Linked DNA regions of Homo sapiens: region 1 is linked to region 2. Evidence: promoter capture Hi-C in 16 types of primary human blood cells and fetal thymus (Javierre and others, 2016). All regions are on one chromosome and are shown on one strand. Each heading gives the region's core, a stretch centred on a gene start or on the middle of the fragment in contact. The rest is flanking DNA. Distances are from core to core; before and after follow the strand shown. Region 1 has its middle 10 kb from the start of LINC02696. Region 2 holds the start of TTC17 (tetratricopeptide repeat domain 17).

What was found. The method cuts DNA at HindIII sites, captures the fragments that hold promoters and counts their contacts. A CHiCAGO score of 5 or more calls a contact.
Region 1: a contact is called between a fragment that was not itself captured here and the fragment with the promoter of TTC17 in region 2, in 2 of 17 cell types (naive CD4 T cells and fetal thymus). The highest score is 7.9, in naive CD4 T cells.

What each region holds. Positions count from the first base shown.
Region 1 is chr11:45,342,496-45,348,016 of GRCh38, reverse strand. No RefSeq gene overlaps it. Among named protein-coding and RNA genes, the nearest start is that of LINC02696, 10 kb to the left of the region's middle. RefSeq lists an enhancer at 206-744. The HindIII fragment of the contact is 3,341 bases long and covers 487-3,827 here.
Region 2 is chr11:43,355,187-43,360,755 of GRCh38, reverse strand. It overlaps TTC17 (tetratricopeptide repeat domain 17), which reads right to left and starts at 1,836. Exons shown (of 24, transcript NM_018259.6): 1 at 1,643-1,836. The coding sequence starts at 1,801. RefSeq lists a silencer at 1,498-1,577 and an enhancer at 1,708-1,977. The HindIII fragment of the contact is 2,829 bases long and covers 1-2,255 here.

The sequences.
Region 1 (5,521 bases), core at 908-3,407, 2.0 Mb before region 2:
GAATTAGAGGGGCTTGGAAGCAGCTGGTTTTTGGGGCAGACAGAAAGCTGGTCCCAGGGTTCCGTGTTTTATGTTAACGACAATCATCTCTCCGTTTTCCTGATTAAGAGCTGCTGTGGAGCCTCATGCACTATTTGACTTAGCCAGGAACTTCAAAAGCAGATGCCTGACAAGAATAACTCTTTACTCTTAGATTTAGGGCAGAGCATGATAACAAAGTCCTGAGCAAAGCTTTGCAAATGTTCAGTTTTCAGTGATGTAGTATAATTCTGCGGGGCATTTGTTACAAACACATTTTTTTCCAAAGAAAATTGTTTTATGGCTTAATGTGAAAGCAACTCTCCTAGCAGACTCTCGCCTGCCTCACCAAAGCCCCTTGCAGGGCCCCTCTGGTTCCCGACCTCAAAGAATGCCCTGCAGTTTGTGAGGAGCCCACGAGATCTGCTTTAAAAAGGTCAGGCACTATATTTTGTCATTTGTGAAGCTTACCATATTTGCAATCCTGCTCTCAGCCTCCCTGTGGCTCAATTAACTGCTGATGATACCTTCCAGTGTGGCAAGGCCCGAGGCCTTCTCTCTGCCTCATTATTTTATACATTTTGAAACGCTGGCTTTTTAAGTTAGAGATTAATTTTCCTGCACCGAGGGGGGTGTTAGTGGAAGGAAGCATGCTTTTACTTGGCAGGAAAAAAAAATCCTCCAACATGGTCATACCAATTTATACCATACTAGCGATATGTAAGAATTTCAGTTGTTTCATCTTTGTCAGCATTTGATATTTTTCCATCATTTTCATTTCAGCCATTATGTTTTAATTTGCATGTAATGTGTTTATTGGCCATTTGGACACCTTGTTTTCTAAAATGCCTGTTCAAATATTTCACACATTTTTCTATTGAGTTTTATTCCTTTTTTAAAAAATTGATTCACAGGAATTTGTTATATATCCTAAATATAAGTCCACTGTTTGGCTATATGAATTGCAAATATCTTTTCCAAATCTGTAGTTTGCTGTTTTACCCTATTAGTAGTGTCTTTTGATAGGCAAAAGAGCTAATTTTAATAAAGTCCAGTTTACTTATTTCCTTTGTGGGTGGTGCTACTGTTAAGATTTTTTTTTTTAAGAAGTTGGGTAGCCTCGCTGACGTTAAGATGCACTGGTGCAGTGTTTTCGCTGCTTAGCCTGTCCTGTGGAGGGCTTGTGTTCACACGCCAGGCCTGTGTACCCCTGGGAAGGCGCCATGCTTAGAGTAGCACCGTACAAGAAATATATGATGCAAGCCATGTGTGTTATTTAGATTTTTCTAGTAGCCACATTTACAAAAGCAAAAAGTAAAAGATGAAATTAATTTTGATAGTATATTTTATTTAACTAAATATATCTAGTACTCAGGCCATTTCAATGCTTAAAAATTCACTCTGCTCTTTGGGAGACCAAGGCAGGCGGATCATGAGGTCAAGAGATCAAGACCATCCTGGTCAACATGGTGAAACCCCATCTCTACCAAAAAATTAGCCGGGCGTGGTGGTGCGAGCCTGTAGTCACCGCTACTCAGGAGGCTGAAGCAGGGGAGGGGGGCTTGAACCTGGGAGGCGGAGATAGCAGTGAGCCGAGATCGTGCCACTGCACTCCAGCCTGGTGACAGAGGGAGACTCCATCTCAAACAAACAAACAAATTACTGTGCTTTGGTTTTGAAATGAGATTTAAATTTTAGTCACACTAGCCACGTACACATGGTAAGTAGTCACATCTCTCTGACTGTTATCATATTGGACAGTACAGGTTTAAAAGTTGACAATCAGCTCTGGAGGCAAATGACCTGGGTTCTAATATGGCTGTGTCCCTTTATAACAATAGCTAACACCTATGGACTGCTTCCTCCTTAGCAGGCTCTGTCCATAAGAAAATAAAGACACTGAGGGCCTCAGGCATACCAAGTACTGTGCATGATTTATATTATTTAATCCTTCCAAACCATGCGAGGTAGGTAATGTTCTTACCCCCAGTGGTGGTTAATTTTATGTGTCAATGTGGTAGGTTGTAGCACCCAGTTGCTAGGTCAAGCACCAGTCCAGATGTTGCTGGGAAGGTATTTTTTTAGGTGATTTTAGGTGATTAACATTTGAATCAGTAGACTTTGAGTAAAGTACATTACCCTCTTTAATGTGAGTAGGTCTCCTCCAATCAGTTGAAGGCCTTAAGAAAAAAGATTGAGGTCCCGCCAGGAGGACAGAACTCTGCCTCCAGACTGCCTTTGGACTCAAAACTGCAACAATCAACTTCTGCTGGAATTTCCAGACTGCCAGTCACCACTGCAAAGTTTGCATTTTCCAGCCCCCACCATTGCATGAACCAATTCCCTAACATAAAGTCTCTCTCTCTCCCACACTGCTTCCCCTCAGCGCCCCCACACCCACATCCTATTAGTTCTATTTCTCTAGAGAACACTGTCAAATATACTACCCATCCCAATTTCCCTCAATAGGGAAACTGAGGCAGCTTGGCTCCAGAGCTCATGCTTTTAACCTCTGTGCTGCCTCCAGCCATTTGGAAAACTCCTTAACTTATTTAGGTCTCAATTTTGTTATTGGCAAACTAAGATGAGTAGTGCCTACGCAATAGGTTTGTTGTGAGGACTGTTTGAGATGACATAAAGCACCTGGCATGTAGTAAGTACTCAATGCAAAGTATTGTTGCTTGTTGATGTTTTCCATCTTAAGACACTCAAAGCAGAACATATTACTGGTTATACTGTAGATATCAAAGAATTAAAGAGAAGGAAGGGCAAAGTTTAGAAAAGTCTATTGTATGAGATTCACTGATGATCTTTATCACAGGCACTTTAAATTTTTGCCATGCCCATGTCAATAAAAATGGCTATTTTTAAGTGAGTCCCTGCCATCTGCACAACATTTGAATTCCATCATCTCATGAAATCCTCACATGAATCCTACTGGGGAATCATCATTGTCATTTCCCAATTCCCAGTTTAAAGATGAGAAACTGAGGCCGCAAGTGAATCAGAAACTTATCCAGCTTCTAAATGACAATCTCTCAGGGAAATAATTTCCCAGTACCTTCATGTTGTCAAACCATCAGATTATTTCTTTTCTTTATTAATCCTTTACAAAGAGGCTTGTAAGTGAATTGAAATTAACATCAAGTCATTGTAGGGAAATTGAAAACTTAATCATTCCCGTATTCTCCTTCATTTTTATCTGCTGCTGGGTGCATACATTTGTAATTCAGCTTTGAAACTGTCATATAATCTTACAATTTTTTTTTCTTTTGCAATTTTGTGCAGGTAATCCTGAGGGGGATTTTTCATATATTGTAGATGATTAAAATTGAATGTAGCTTATAAAAAAATGAATTGTTAATGACTGAGAAAGCCTTGTGTTCTTTGAAAATATTTGTTGTTAAATGAAAAGAGACTTCAGAATGTCAATATATTTCCCTTTGTTTGTTTTCCCCCTCTTCCTACTTGTATTCTTCCCATACATTTTAAATTGGTGTAATCCACAGATTAATTTTTAGGTATTTCTTTGAGTTATGTTCATAAATGTCAGGTTTTATAGAAAGATTATTTTTTGCAAGTTTTAATACGTTTTTTTCTCCTTCATTCTCCTTTCTTTGATGTCAGGGATGAATAAATCCAGTTTAATATGACTTTCATTTGTGAGGCTTAACATAGAAACCATTGTAAGGCTAAACCAAACCTCCTTCTGTTTTTCAATGATTATCTTTCTCTGTCAAAATGAACCAAGCCCTCTAGTCTGAGGATTTGAAAGAAACAAGTCCTAAGAATAGTCAGAAATCAAAGCTTGCAGGGTGAGCTCAGATTGTAACTAAGTGTTCCTTTATCTTCACCCACACTTCTTTGAAGTGCTTTCCCTAAGCTGGTTACGTTGGATATTGAAGGGAGGGTGTGGATTCCCAAGTGGCAATTCCATCATGTTTATTGGGAGGTTGGATATTATGATAATTATTTTCTCCATGGTCTTTTACCTCTAAGCCATGGTACTTCTATGTACCCGACTTTTGCCTGGTATGGTTACATTGGGATGGTTTAAATAATTTAGACTCTAATTTATGTTGGAGTAGAAATGTTCATAAGTGGGCCATTAACACCTATATTTCAGTGAAAGTGCTGTGTAATGACCTAGGGTATTATTAAATGGCACACTCCCCTGAGATATTGTTCCACTTTCTTTTCATCATCCCTTACCTTTCTCTCATTTTTATGAACAATTCTTTACTCTGTCTCTTGGAGGGCTAACAGCAGACAGAAGAACTGCAGATAGTGTGCTTGAAAGAGTCTGGATTTATTATGCTCAAATTACAATCTATGCATATTTAATCAGCTCTTATTATATGCAATGCTTTGCTCTAGACCCTGCATATAAAGATCAGCATTGTCCCTGGGGACAATAGCCATCCCTGGGGTATAATTTATCACTACTTTTCCTGAGGTTAGTGAAGCAATGTGCATCAAAGCCTTAAAAATGTGCATATCCTTTGATGAGGTAATCCTACCTTTGGAAATGTAACCCAGGTAAGAAAATGAGAATGTGGATAAGTAATTATGCAAAAGGATGTTCGTCACAGTTGTTTAGAGTAGTGAAAATTGGAAAACAGCCTAAATGTCCAATAGTAAGGGATTGGTAAATTAAAGTACTTGCATGCCCATACAATGGAATATTACATAATCATTAAAACCCAGATTGTAGAGTATTGACATGAAAAGATATTAATGATATAATGCCAATTGAGTTTTTAAAAGGTTATATAGGTATGTGGTATAAAATTTAATTTTATTAAATGATGCTATAAATATATTGCACTCCTAGGAAAAAGCCGGATGGACACTGAACAAGTATAAAGAGCAGTTACTGGCTGGGTGCAGTGGCTCACACCTGAAATCCTAGCACTTTGGGAGGCCAAGGAAGGTGGATTGCCTGAGGTCAGGAGTTTGAGACCAGCCTGGGCAACATGGTGAAACCCTGTCTCTACTAAAATACAAAAAATTAGCAGGGTATGATGGTGTGCACCTGTAGTCCTAGCTACTTGGGAGGCTGAGGCAGAAGAATCGCTTGAACCCGGGAGGCAGAGGTTGCAGTGAGCCTAGATCAGCGGCAGAATGAGACTTCAACTCCAAAAAAGAAAAAAGAGTAGTTATTGCTCAGGATTAGGATAGTGGATGTATTTTTATTTTCTTCTCTTTGCTTTGCTTGTCTACATTTTCTAGTTTTTCTCCAGAGACCAGATATTGCTTTTGAAATCAAAACATTCTATAAAAGTCATTTTTAATGAAAAATAAACTAGAGAGCCTGTCCCTGGACCACTACAGGGCAGCAGGCTGTGCAAGAGAACACAACCCAGTGCACAGTCAGTGTTCATGGGGTCAGCTCCGGGAGCCCTGCCTGTGCCTGCCTTGCTGTGACCCTCTGACCTCCCTCATCTGGACCCTTCCTGCCTTGGCCGTGGCTTTATTTCCTGGCTTCAGAAAGCCATCCTTC
Region 2 (5,569 bases), core at 587-3,086:
TATCCAAAGTGCAAAAAGAAGGAATTTGTTAAAAAAAAAAAAAAAATCAGACTCTACTTTCCCATTGCAATGTTAAGTATATACATAAAACATTTCTACCAGCTTTCACTTTTTAGATGGGCTACTTTTTCAGCTGAGTGGTAGGACACCAAAATGGGAAGGAGAAGTCAATGTCATAGAGTATAAATAGCTGTGGCCAAAAACAATATTGCAGAAGAGCCAACAGGAGAAAGGCTCCCCAAAATGCAGCAGGAGTGACTTAATTCCACGTCTTCATAGAGACCTCAGGGAAAACCACTATCAAGAAACAAAAGAAGGGTGGAAGCAACCAGCACTCACATATGGTCTTACAGTGTTTTCTTGGGTTTCTGAAACACATACACATATATTTAAAGTCTCAGATAGTATGGCAATGAAAAGGAAACTGTTCTTTATGTATGTCATATAGAAAACGTTACCCAATAGGAACACGGTCTTTTCTTAGATATGCTGAAAACCACTCATGAATACCTAGGCGGATTTTTAGTTATACTTAACTTACTTGAGATAGAATTTGCAATTACATTACACGGCAAATCTAAATCTAAACCTCACCTTAAACGTTGGAATGTGTTCCTATCATGATTCATTACACACAATCCAAAGGACCAGTAATTTCCCACCACACTAGTTAAAACGTTTTAGATCAGTGGGCTAAATTGCATGGGGCACACAATTCACTTTCTAAATGTTTGCTAGACACTTCAAGATTGTCCTCAAGTGTTCGAAGTCAGTAAGTTTACCAATATTCTGTAGCGGAACACACACACGCACTCGTTAGGCATCAGCAGCATTTACAAAACGCAGGCAATCATAAAGTTATATAAGAAAAGCAGTCTCGCCTCTGAGGAATTAGTTCAGGCATACAAGAATCCAGGAAATCGCATATCCTCCATGCGAGGCTGGGTCACAAGAACTAGGTAAAGAAACAAAGCAAAGTGCACTGGGAAACGAGGGCAGTAACAGCTGAAAAGATGCAGGCAACGCCACCAGCGGCATCTTCAAGCATTCCTTCTGAAGGGGAGTGTTTCTATGTTGTTTCTAATGAGCCACTGCTGACCTGAGTAACGGTACAAGCTGAAACCAACACAACCAGAAACGAAATCCACCATGTGGTAGACGAGACTAGGGGAGCAGCACGAATGGTCCACAGGCTAGGGGTCCAGAAGCTGTCATACCATGGGACTCGCGCACACCCTGGAGCTGCCACCTGCTTTCTATTTCCTCGGGGAGGGCCGGTGACGCGTGAACCCGAGAGGCACCAAAGGCAGGAATCCTGAAATCTGTGATTTCTAAACCCCGAGCTAAAAAAAGGTCCGTAGGGCCCGTCTCCCGCAGCTGGGCGACTCTTCCCCACGCGGCGCGCGGCCCGCGAGGTGGAAGGGTGAGAACTTCTAGGGGGCCAAACGAGGACCAGGAGACAAGTGGGGAGCGGGAAGTGCCTGCCTGGTCCGAATGCAGGGAGTCCGAGGTCGCGGTGCCACCTCCCTGTGAGGGTAGGCTGGGGGCGGGGCCGCGCGGAGCCCAACAGCCAGGGGCCAAGCAGGGTAATCCCCCCGGGGCGAGGGCGGGCACGGGAGAAGAGGGACGCCCCGGCCGCTACCTGCTGCTGGATTTTCCCGTCCTCCGTGACGACCCAGTGCGTGGTGGCGAAGGCCCCTCGTGCCGCCACACTCAGCAAGGCGGAAAGGCTGAGGAGCCAGCCTGGGCCGGAGCAAGGCGGCAGCTCGTACCGGCCACGAACCCCTACTGCCGCCGCCATCTTGCCCCCCCGGCCGGGCCGCTCACACCGGAAGCGGAAGCTAGTCTCCGGCGCCCGCCATCTTGAAGAGGTCGGCCCTGGAGGAGGAGCAGGAGGAGGAGCCGAGAGGGCGTAGCTCGCTGACTACCAAGTTTCCTCCACCTCGGTTTTGGCGGCCAGGAAGCGCGACCTTCGGCTACTCTCCCAGCTTGGCTTCAGGGATGGAGACCGCTTTTTAGTTATTGTTTTTCTGTGGGTGATACGATCTCGGAGCGTGGGAACCGGAGGGAGACAAAAGCAGTGGCTTAGGTGGCGCTTAAGCAGAAGTGAAAGGACTCAATTTTATTGTTTTTTAAATCTTTGTTTTTTCGTTTTATTTCTGGTAGATAGTTGGGGAACAAAAGGTGTGCTTTCGAACCACCTATGGGAAGAGAGGTGTTGCTTTTATTCTTAAAGTCTCACAATAGTGGAAGCTTCAGAATGGAGACGGTTGTTAGTTTAGGGCACCGCTGTCCAGTAGCACTATAATGCGAGCCACGTGTGGAATGTAAAATATAGAGGGAAGTAACCCTACTAGTACATTTTATTTAACTCAAAGTACACAAAATATTAATTCAATGTGGTCTGTACAAATCATTGAGATAGTTTAGTTTTTTTTTTTTTAACTAAGTCTTGGAAATCGGCATGTTACACTGACAGCTTATCTAGTCATATTTCAGGGGCTTAATACCCGCATGTGGCTAACGTACTGGTCAGCACAGGTCTAAGCTAGAGGTCTAGGTCTGGAGACCAGAAACATTGGCATCACCTGGGAGCTTTTTAGACCTGCACATTCTCGGCTCTTCTCCCTCTCCCCCGCAACCTGCTGAATCAGACTACATTTTAACAATAGCCTCAGGTGACTGGTATACATATTAAAGTTTGAGAACCACTTTCTTCTAGTGAACCAACAGGCAGGCAGGCAGGCGTCAAGCTTGGCTGCCAGCTTCTTGCTAGATATGTCATTTTAGGTCTTTCAAGATTGCCCTCTGTGTGTGTTATTTAAGGTTGGTATGCTTTTGGTTTTCTCCTTGGGAAAAGAAGGATGAGAATATTGTTTAACCACTTCTCTACACAAGTGTATGCAGGAGAGCAGTTGCTAAGTGTTTAAACACCACGCTATAGAAATGTAGAAACAACCACAGCATTGGTGTTTTTTTTTTCTTCATTCCAGGAACAGCTTTTCTTAAAGGCCTGAAGACTGAACATTCATTTCATTAAAAATATATGGCTTATTTGCTTTTTGCCTGGTACTCTGATAGTCTCTGGGTATGGAAATGTAACCATTGGGCAGTGTGCAATATAGTGAGATATTATTGGCAGGTTAACAATTAAAATACAGGATAATGGGGGTGTATGAATGCATATGTACAGGAGAGAGCAACCAACCAGGTGAAAAAAAGGTTTGGAGCTCAGGTGCTGGTTCAGGCAGAATAATAAGTGAAAAGGTGAAGTTGGCCGGGCGCGGTGGCTCACGCCTGTAATCCCAGCACTTTGGGAGGCCGAGGTGGATGGATCACTGAGGTCAGGAGTTCAAGACTGGCCTGGCCAAGATGGTGAAACCCCGCCTCTACTAAAAATACAAAAATCAGCCGGGCATGGTGGCGGGCACCTGTAATTCCAGCTACTTGGGAGGCTGAGGCAGAGAATTGCTTGAACACGGGAGGCGGGGATTGCAGTGAGCCGAGATCACACCACTGCACTCCAGCCTAAGTGACAGAGCGAGAATCCGTCTCAAGAAACGAAAAGGTGAAGTCAGTGGCATGTTTTAAGAGTTTCTTGGAGTTTAGACATAGGCAATAGGGAGTGTTTCAGAATTTTAAAATAGAGAAGTGGCAAATGATGGAATCCCTTTTGTCTCAGCATCTTATTTTTGGGGCATAGAGGTCAACCCTATTTCTTGTGTATAAAGCTGACATCATCATCATCTAACATTTCTTGAGTGTTTAATACGTACTGGGTCCTGTACATGCATAGTTCCTATTAATCGTCACAACTTACCAAGCTCTGGCTAGTTAAGTAAGTTGGCCAAGATCATATTGCTAAGTGGTAGAGCTCAGGTTTGGACTCAGATCCACCTGACTCTAGATCTGAGAGCCTGAGAATGAATGAATGTTAGTGAGGAATTTGAGAAAGGCCCCAGCATCACATATTTTGCTATCAGCAATTTCTTTGACCTTCACAAGTTAACCTCTAAAGGGGTGGAATTATAGCTTCTATAGCTTTATTATACCACCTATTTTCTGTAGATGATAACTCTTATCTTTTGGGATCCTGTATTAGTTTTCTAATGCTGTGTAACAATTGCCACAAACTTAGCTTAACACATTATCTGACAGTTTCCTTGGGGCAAAAGTCTTCTGCTGTGGTGTGACTGAGTTCTCTGCTCAGTGTCACAAGGCTCATATCAAGGCTGCAATCTCATCTGAGGCTTGGGGTTCCTCAGTCAAGCTCATTCTTCAAGTCCTTGGCAGAATTCAATTTATTGCCAATGTAGGACTGAGGGCTCCATTTTCTTACTGGCTGCTGATTGTGGCCATTAACATTGAGGCTACCCACAGTTTTCTGCCATGTGGCTCTCACAATGGCAGTTATTCCTTGAAGGCAAGCAGAATATTTCCACTGCTGAAATCTCTTGAATTCCTCTATCTCTAAGCCTAGACTTAAAGGGCTCATGTGAGTTGATAAGGTCTATCTGAATAATATCCCTTTTTATTCAACTGATTAGTAACTTTAATGCCATCTGCAAAAATTTCGTTTGCCATATAACATTATCTTAGTCCATTTTGTGTTGTTATAACAGAATACCTAAAGCTGGGCAATTCATAAAGAAAAGAGGTTTAATTGGCTTATGATTCTGGTGGCTGAAAAGTCCAAGATTGGGCAGCCGCATCTGGTAAGGGCCTCACGCTGCTTCCACTTAGGGAGGAAAGCAGAAGGGGAGTGGGTGTGCATAGAGATCACATGTTGAGAGAAGCAGCAAGAGAGACAAATCAAGAAAGCCAAACTCTTTTAACAACCCACACTCGAGAACTAATTCATTCCTGAGAGAGCAAGAACTCACCTCCCCCCCCACCACCGTGAGGGCATTAATCTGTTCATGACAGATCCACCCCCATGACCCAGAAACCTTCCACTAGGCCCCATCTCCCAACACTGCCACATTGGGTACCAAATTTCAACATGAGTTTTGGCGGCCCTAACCACATCCAAACCTATGATCACAGGAGTGATATCGTATTCATGTTTTACCCACATAGTCAAGTTAGGAAATTTCCCCCTTTTCTACTCTATTAAGGTGAAATGGACAAAATTGTATATATTTAGTGTACAACATGATGTTTTAATATACGTAGGGGAGATTTTATGCGGGCAAGGACCATTGGGTATCATCTTAGAATTTTGCCTACCACAGATCTTGACTGCCAAGTACCATTCTTCTAGTCTTTCACTGAACTGTTTTAAGTATCACAGACTAATTTAGACATACTTTTGCTCCTGTTCCCTGCCTAAAATCCTTTCCTCATGCTGCTTTCTCAAATCTATTTAAGATACAGTTGAAATCCTAGCCTGCAAAAATGTCTGTCAACTTGTTTGCCACCTCTGAATTCTGTCAGTAATATGACAATACTATGCTGCTTTGTGATATTATTTTATAAACTTTGAACAGCCAAACTCTTGAGTGGTTCTTGCAATAGTTCTTAGTTCTAATCTGGTGAGGCAGAACACTCAAACAGTAAGTCAGGCAAA